Regions from separate parts of the Homo sapiens genome. Here all the other regions are linked to region 1. The links are contacts of gene promoters, found by promoter capture Hi-C in blood cells and fetal thymus (Javierre and others, 2016). All regions are on one chromosome and are shown on one strand. Each heading gives the region's core, a stretch centred on a gene start or on the middle of the fragment in contact. The rest is flanking DNA. Distances are from core to core; before and after follow the strand shown. Region 1 holds the start of MRPL42 (mitochondrial ribosomal protein L42). Region 2 has its middle 2.9 kb from the start of LINC02413. Region 3 overlaps LOC643339 (a long non-coding RNA gene).

Region 1 (2,869 bases), core at 128-2,627:
TACAGTGAAGAACAAGATAGACATATGTCTCTGTCTTCAAGGAGCTTACATTATCCAGCATAAGAGACATTAAACGAGGTTGGGTGTGGTGGCTCACGCCTGTAATCCAGCCCTTTGAGAGGCCGAGGTGGGCATATCACCTGAGGTAAGGAGTTCGAGATCAGCCGGGCAAACATGGCGAAACCCCATCTCTACTAAAAATACAGAAATTAGCTGGGCGTGGTGGTGGCCACCTGTAATCCCAGCTAATTAGGAAGCTGAGGCAGGAGAATCGCTTGAAGCTGAGAGGCGGAGGTTGCAGTGAGCTGAGATCATGCCACTGCACTCCGGCCTGGGCGATAGAGCAAGACTCCGTCTCAAAAAAAAAAAAAAAAAGAAAGAGACATTCAACGAGCAAACAAATAATCAATATAAAGTCAGGTAATGGTAAATATTCTGAAGGAAAATAAAGCGGGGCATGGAATAAGGGTGGGTGAGGCTATTTTAATGGTGTGGTCCTTTCTAAGATGATATTTGAGAAAGACCTGTAAGGTCATGAGAAGAGGTCAGAGAAGCACATTGCTGGCAATGGGAACAGAGAGTGCAAAGGCCCAGAGGTCTTTCCTTCCTCCTAAGATGGAAAGCGAGGTCCAAGATTCTGCATATTTACTTCCTCCCATAATAGGTAGCCAGCACAGTTCTGAGGGCACAGTGCCAGGTTTTCAGAGTGGAGGTTCTCTTCAGGTTCTGATTTCAAACGTCCAAATCCTAGCCTCCACATTTCAGGGCTTCTCTGGAATGTCTCTTCCCCTGGGAAACTTTAACTCATCTACTAAAGAGCAATCTACGATTTCTCTGAATATTAACATAATTTTTTTAAAAAGTACTTATAGGTTTGCATGGTGGCTCATGCCTGTAATTCCAGCACTTTGGGACGCCGAGGCAGGAGGATTGCTTGAGACAAGCCTGGGCAACATACCGAGACCTCGTCTCTACAAAAATATTAAAAAATTAGCTGGGTGTGGTGGTGTGCGCCTGTAGTACCAGCTACTCAGGAGGCTGAGGTGGGAGGCTCTCTTGGGCCCAGGAGGTAGAGGCTGCAGTGAGCCGTGAGGGAGCCATTGCACTCCAGTCTGGGTGACAGAATGAGACTGCCTCACAAAAAAAAAAAAAAAAAAAAGCTTGTTACTTTCTAAGGGTATGTGTTTGGGGCAGTGATTTTGTTTTTCTGGGCACCTTAGTAACACTGCGGCCACGCTTCCCCAACTAAAGGTAAAAGTCCATAGCAACAATCCTCCCTTTCTCTCTGCACCCGGGCCGCTTTCCCGCGGAGACTACATTTCCCAGAATGCCCCGCGGGCTGGGACGGCGCGCGCAGCGCTGTTTCGTGGGACCAGGATTGAAACAAGATGGCGGGTTCGTGGTGAGAAGCCGTCAAGGTAACCGCTTCCCTCTACTCCTCCTGTCGAGGACTTCCTCGAAACTGGGCAGTCCCACAGTGTTGGTCGGCAGTTGTAGAGGTCTCCCGCCTGTCGTTCCCGGCAGGGCGAGGTTGCCTGCATCCCCAGCCTTTGTCCTTCCTGCAGAAGAGCCGGCATGTGGCTGCGCGTTTCTTATAGCGCCCCCTTTGTTCCCTGGCGGACGCCCGTGGGGAGGTGATGCAGCTTGTGGCTCTAGGGACTCCTTTAGGTCGAAGAGTTCTGGTGCTCTTGGTAGCCTGTTCCTCAAACCTCTGACCCTCAGAGGCTCTGTAGCTTTTGTTTTGGGGTTGAATTCCGGGCTGAGGGACTTGATCTCTGAAATGATCTTCCTGGGGTGAATAATCTGACTCCCAGCAGGGCGTGCTTTTCTCTGGGCTTCGGACAGAGGGGACCTAATTTCCCCCAAGATGTTTTATTCGTGGTCAGAAGTCATGGGTTTACGTCCCACGCATGTATTAAGCAGCGATATACTGAGCAAGTAATCGATTGACCTCTCTGAGCCTTTGTTCTTAATCTGAAATGGAGATGCTGCTTCACACACTTGTGAAAGTCAGAGCACATATTGTATATGAAAGTGGGTTGTAAACTAAAAAGCACACCTATGAGCTCAGGGTTAACGGTGTTAATGTACTGGCAGTGCAAGGTATCAGTGTGAGTGGTTTAGACTAGCAAATAAGAGGGCCTGTGTCCTAATTCTCTTTTATCACTATTGGGGGGAAGGGCACGGATACTCATTGAAGACTATTAAAAACAAGATTTAACAATGGTTATTTGTCATTTATTCACAACAGGCCATGAAGATTGTGGTTTTCCCCATTTTGTCATTGGAGAAACTGAGGATCGTTTAGTTAATGACTTGTTTAAAGTTTCCCAATTTGGCAGTGACTGACTCTAAAGTCCTTGGAAGCAAGACGTTTAAATTTTGTACTTTAGTTTCTTCATGAATCAGAATAAAGATACCTCACATGATTAATACGAGAGCAAAATGAAATGGTGGTGAAAGTACGTTGGAAAGTTAAAGACTTTGTACACATATAAGATGGTGAAATTTTATCTGGGACTTGAGGGCATTTATGAGTTCCTCCAATTGAGTAATAGGCTAAGGATAGGCCTTGTTTGATATTTCTTTATTATTATTATTATTATTAATGGCTCAGGGCAGACAACTATTTCATTTAATCAGAAACAGGATAGTACTGTAAATGATGTAGTATCTTGTGTATGGAACCTTGGAGGGTGTACACAGCCACACTAGCATTAAAAGAATGAATACTCTGTGTACCATTTGTGAGTGACTGTTTCAAGAGTAATTACACATTTACTGAGTATTCATTAAGTGGAAGGAGCTGCACTGGGTCCTGCAGAGAAGTTTGTATCTAAGATAAATAGTAATGGACATAGTTCCAGTG
Region 2 (2,869 bases), core at 174-2,673, 480 kb before region 1:
ACATGCCTGTAGTCCCAGCTACTCAGGAGGCTGAGGCAGGAGAACCGCTTGAACTCGGGAAGCAGAGGTTGCAGTGAGCCGAGATCACACCATTGCACTCTAGCCTGGGTGACAGAGCGAGACTCTATCTCAAAAAATAAATAAATAAATAATAGAGACAGAGTATGACTATGTTGCCTAGGCTGTTCTTTAACTCCTGGTCTTAAGCAATCCTCCTGCCTTGCCCCTGCTAAAATGTTGGGATCACAGGTGAAGCCACCATGTCCAGCCTTTTTTTTTTTTTTTTTTTTTTTTGCTTTCTCTCTCTCTCTCTCTTTCATAAATTAGAGATGGAGTCTCACTATATTGCCCAGGCTAGTCTCAAATTCCTGGCCTTAAGTGATCCTCCCACCTCGTAATCTACTTTTTGGGGACTAATGAGGTGTAGCCAAAATACAACATGTGGGAGGCAGTAAATGTAGAGATTAGGAGTAGATTTGGCAAGCCAGACTGCTGTGGTCACACCCCAGCACAGAATTTATGAATCCGGCTCCTCTCCATTCAAATCTCTGCCAAAAATCACCTCCTTCTGGAGGCCCACCATGACTATTCTATTTAATACAGCTTACCCCACTGCCCTATCACTCTCTACACCATTCTCATTTTATTATGCTCAGAGTATCTATTATTCTCCGAAGAAGCATTTCTTGAAATCTAGCTGGTAATCTTCTTTCCTTATTAGAATGTAAGCTCCATGAGAGCAGGGATCTCTCTGTATCAGAATCTGTATTGTGCTTGGTAGGTAGTTGACTCAATAAACATTTCTGAGTGAATGAATATATTATATGGAAATTGAAGAATACAAGCTTCTCCACATAAGCACGTGGCAGAAAAGACAAAAAGAGAGGTAGAGAAAAAGACTCTCTTTTTATTTAAGCTTCCCTCCCCTGTTGAAATCCACTACTCCAAAAAAGGGAGACACTGACCAAAACAGAAACAAAAGAAACTAATTCTTGGTTTTTATGCTTCCTGATAATTTAAGGGATTTTCATAGATAGGTTTGACAAATGCAATTTTTTTGCCTTAGGCACTGGCACTAGAAACTATTAATAAACAAGATTGGCCTACAGAGGGTGCTAGTTCTCTTCAAAAAAGTAAAAGAAGTGCATGCGCTTTTCCACTGGGTCTGGGAAAGAGTTTACAAAACAAGCAGAGACACAGCTTAGTAACAACTAATGAAACGTCTAAATTGCCACATTTTGCTTCATAAAAAAAAAAAAAGGAGGAATCTGTGAAAGTGCCAGAGGCATTCAAAGACGTCCCCTGAGGAAAAGAATTGGCATCATTTTTCAAATGCAAAGAGAAGCTAAGCTAAGAGAAGCATCCATTTAAAAAGTTTTTTTAGTTCTTATTTTTGATAGAGAAGGGGTATCACTATGTTGACTGGCCTGATTTTGAACTCGGAGGCTCAAAGGATCCTCTGCCCCTCAGAGTGCTTGGATTGCAGGTGTGAGCTACCAAGAGAGGCATCCAGAAGTTGAAAAGACTGAATCTGTTGTGAAACAGAAGACCCAGGTCGGGGGAAGTTGTTGCCAGCCCTGGAGGGAGGAGAGGTGACAGGCCTCTGCCACATTCCACCCCCACTTCATGCTGGGACATGGGGACCTGGAGACCTAGTGTGAGATGCCTGTAGACTCTGTAACTGGAGGAGTGTTCTGACAGCTGTGTTTCCTGAAACTGAGTCTTGGTTTCAGAGTTCAGCAAGGGATATGCATGGTGGTGGTAGCGTTGGGACAGAAGCGGGGCACTACTTGAGAGTTTTGAAATATGTAATTTGTCACAGCAAGGACAAGGGCAAGTGAGCCTGGCAGGAGGGAGGAGCCTCTTCAAAGTCTGGATCTGCAAAAAAAATCTTCAGAAGAGGAAATGAAACAAATAAGCGAGTTCTTAAAAAAGCTTTTGAGCTCTCTAAATGAGCAATAGTTGAGGCAGCTTTGATAGTCCAAAGCTAACCTCAAGGCTGGGATTCTTTTATTTATTTATTTATTTATTTATTTATTTATTTATTTATTTATTTATTATTTTGTAGAGATGGGAAGGGGAGGGGTCTCACTATGTTGCCCAGCCTGGTCTTAAACTCCAGGCCTCAAGCAGTCCTCCAGCCTTGGCCTCCCAAAGTGTTGGAATTACAGGCATGAGCCACTGTGCCAGGAAAAGGTTAAGAGTCCTTTTTTTTTTTTTTTTTTTAACTTCAAGGCTGAGATTCTTAATCCTAGTACTCTAGACGTCATATTCCAGTGATCAGATGCAGAATCCATAAGTGCTCTGACAGGTCTTATCATTATGTGTGGTGTTTTCACTTAGTGAGTGCCCTTGTTTTGTCAGTTCAAGGTGGCTTGCTTAGTTACTTTATTGTAATGTTCAATGGCTAAACTTTAAACAAAAATCAATAAAGGGCAAGGAATGAGTTTGCAAAAACTATCAGCCACTTCCCTCAATTTAATTGTAAAATCAATCAAATCTGTTTTTTGGCACAGTGCAAGGAAAACATCTATTTGTCCAATAAACTGTCTCATTGATTAAATGGTTCATTTGGAAGAGATAACAAAAGTCTAAGATTTTAATCTCAAGGAAAAATGTATCTTGCAAACATGTTTTCAAGATCCTGAGATCATATTATTTTCCTTTAAGGATTTGCTTCATCCCAGGTGTTCATCTAATCCTACTTTTGCTATTTTTAATCATTATTCATCTATGTAAAATGGAAAATCTATTTAGATGCTTAAAAGTCAACGTAAGCTCACAAACCTGAATTTCAGCAACTAAAAAGGGAGAAGTAATAATGATTCAGTTCTTACTGGGAGCTACTTTATACACTATTTTATTTGGA
Region 3 (2,869 bases), core at 246-2,745, 370 kb before region 1:
ATCAGTCTCTTTATAATTTACGGTTACCAAGAATTGGCATGTAACCCAAAATGTCAACTTATTATCAAGGAGATACTATCATTATCCTACTGATGGAATATCTTCCCAGTAACAATGATATTGGTATTCATTAACCAGGATTCTTCCTTCCCAGAAACAAGGAATCAGATTAGCAATGAGAAGGATATTTGTTGTGTATCAACATGGAGAATTTAAAGGTCTTGAAGCATATATCCTCTAGATATGAAAAATCCAAACGAACTATCTCTCTTCCACAGTGGAGTGTATCTATTTGGTGCAAAAGTAATTGCAGTTTTTGCCATTAAAAGCAATGGCAAAAACAGCAATTACTTTTGCACCAGCCTAGTATCTAATCCCCAGACTATTAATATCTACCAAAGTGTGTCTGTCATCTATGAAAATTACTGGTAAAGTCTGTGAAAATTTTCACTGAAGGTCAGCAAAGGCACTATTATCTCATGCTGGAGAAGTTACAAGTGAATACTAGTACTAGTAACTAGTATTCATTAATACTAGTTAGCTTTGTACACTACAGTTCCATGGCAGAGACAGCTTACTGAAAATATGCCCCAGTTCAGGGTTGGCAAATACATAGCACATGTGCTGTCCCCATCCCTTCCCATACTCTTGGCAGACATCACTAATTGATCACTACACTCTTCCTTCATTGAGTCTTACAGTTCTTCCCAACACAGCTCTATATGCAGCACTACCAATCCTGGCCCTGAGCTCCAGAAGAAGAATTAGGAAGCAAGGCATGTGCAGGTTTCTCACAGGGAGGTTAAGGACTACATGGAACTAAGTGCATTATTTCAAGTTCATTTTGATAGCTTGCTGTTAGAAGGTTAATGTTGTTGCCTGCTGCTCCTTACTGTAAACCCCTAGGTCCTGACTACCGAGGGGATATCAAGGGCTCTATGTTGGCTTTGGTTTTTCTCCTCTCCAGTGTTACAATATGGAGATGCCTACGTCTTACTTACACAGAACGAATTGTTCACCATCATTTTGTCAGTGAATGTATGTTTTAGAAGTCAGTTACTATGGGTGCAGCACACCAGCATGGCACATGTATACATATGTAACTAACCTGCACATTGTGCACATGTACCCTAAAACTTAAAGTATAATAATAATAATTAAAAAAAAAAAAAATAAAATAAAAAGAAGTCAGTTACATATTTAAGCTTCCCTTGGCTCTTTGCCACTTCCACTAGAGGGCGCCACTGAAAAGGAAAGGAGGTAAAACTAAAGGGAAGCCATTTTTCTCCTTAGTGCCTTTCTGTTGCCTCTGCTCAGCCTTACCATCCAGAAGAGGAAGTCCTCAACCAGTCTGCACAGCCTCTGGTGTACCACGGACATAGCACTCTCCACACAAACAGAAACATCTCTTGCTATACTTGCCCTTCTCCTCTGATCCCAAACACCCTTCATTCATCTCAATCACTTTCCCATGGACTTGTTTTCCTTCTTTCATTAGAACCAGAGCTCCATGAGGGCAAAGCTGGTCTTTGTCTTCCCATACCATTATGGTGCCTGGCACAGAGTAGGTCTTCCATACACAGTTGTGTGTTACAAACCTCATGTGCTGAAAAATCACAAGCCTCTTATTCAAGGTGACAGAAATGGAAACCACACCACCTTATTAAGTCGTAGCAAATTTTCCACAACTTCATAAGCATGTGCTTGGACCCTGCTTTCTAATTCTTCAAACCAGGAAATAACTCCCACATGGGCACTAGTGTTCTGCTCTTCTACACAGTGGAATTAAGCTTCTTAACTCCGCATCTATAAGGTTTGATACAAAAGGAAACTCTATTGTCATTTAACCTGACGTTCTAGCAGTTTTCCTTGAAGTTCTCACAGGAGAACTTTGGGGACAATCCTCTCATCAAAATGATTTCTAGCTGCTACCCTTCTCCCACCTTGAAATTCTTAAAGTTTCTTGCCCCCTTGTTGACTTTAATTATGTTCTTCCAATAGCCTTGTAAAATTGAGCAAGTTCCCGACAGCATTTTGAAAGGCCCTGTGAGCTCCCTGGTCAGCATTTTCAATCTCTAATTATAAATCTGCCTGATGGCTTTCACTTAATACTTCTAAGGTGGGGCTGAGGGTAATTGATGGTTTTGAAGCTAGCTCTTTAATAGCAGCCGTCAATGTATCAAGGCTTAATTTCTTTCATGATCTCAGAGAAGTTGCTGCAAGTGGTGAGGAACTTATGTTATCATCCATCCTAGGAAAACAGAGAGATTTTATTAGAGTGTAGTGAAATATTTATAAGAACATTAGAGCTTGTGGGACTCAAGAACTGACTTCACCTCAAACTTTCATTTGCATACTTGCTTCCAGGGAAATCTATTATGGGATGGCCTGGATATATCACTTTAAAAATCCTGCTTTTAATGAACAAATGAGAAAAGGTGAGTAGTTTTCTCTAGAAAGAACATTTTTCTCACCCACTGTCTTCCCGGAAAGATAAAAATATGCTCAAAATATAGCATAGAAATAAAGGGACTATTTTGAAACAGAGACGAAAACATTTTAACTCAAGAAAGAAACGTCAGTGATGATGGAGGATTTCCTTAACAAGAAGAAGAGGCTTCACTGTTTGTTCACAAAGAAACTCGGTCTCTCAGTCTTTAGTTGTGACTTTCTGTTTTACCGAACTATTATTTTAATTGTGGCTTCTCTGTGTTCTCGTTGCCTTCCCGTAACATTTCCATGTTACTTTGTTGGTACTCATTGTCCTTCTGACAAGCCATGTCAGTCTCTTCCACACTGCCTCTTCCATCAAATGTATACTACAGTACCTTCATTAGCCCATTATAGATGCTATGTTTATTCATTCATT

What was found. Contacts are between HindIII fragments. The CHiCAGO score rates a contact against its expected background, and 5 or more counts as called.
Region 2: a contact is called between a fragment that was not itself captured here and the fragment with the promoter of MRPL42 in region 1, in 15 of 17 cell types (total B cells, naive CD4 T cells, fetal thymus and 12 more). The highest score is 10.8, in total B cells.
Region 3: a fragment that was not itself captured here is called in contact with the fragment with the promoter of MRPL42 in region 1 in 4 of 17 cell types (naive B cells, erythroblasts, total B cells and 1 more); the score reaches 6.4 in naive B cells.

The regions. Positions count from the first base shown.
Region 1 is chr12:93,466,137-93,469,005 of GRCh38, forward strand. MRPL42 (mitochondrial ribosomal protein L42) reads left to right here and starts at 1,378. Exons shown (of 6, transcript NM_014050.4): 1 at 1,378-1,418. RefSeq lists enhancers at 1,210-1,269, 1,330-1,599. The HindIII fragment of the contact is 2,939 bases long and covers 1,159-2,869 here.
Region 2 is chr12:92,986,370-92,989,238 of GRCh38, forward strand. No RefSeq gene overlaps it. Among named protein-coding and RNA genes, the nearest start is that of LINC02413, 2.9 kb to the right of the region's middle. RefSeq lists an enhancer at 1,871-1,920. The HindIII fragment of the contact is 1,019 bases long and covers 915-1,933 here.
Region 3 is chr12:93,096,966-93,099,834 of GRCh38, forward strand. All of the region lies in intron 3 of LOC643339 (a long non-coding RNA gene), which reads right to left. LOC105369908 (a long non-coding RNA gene) reads left to right here. Exons shown (of 4, transcript NR_188219.1): 3 at 2,368-2,438. Among named protein-coding and RNA genes, the nearest start is that of LINC02412, 76 kb to the right of the region's middle. RefSeq lists an enhancer at 1,368-1,617. The HindIII fragment of the contact is 585 bases long and covers 1,204-1,788 here.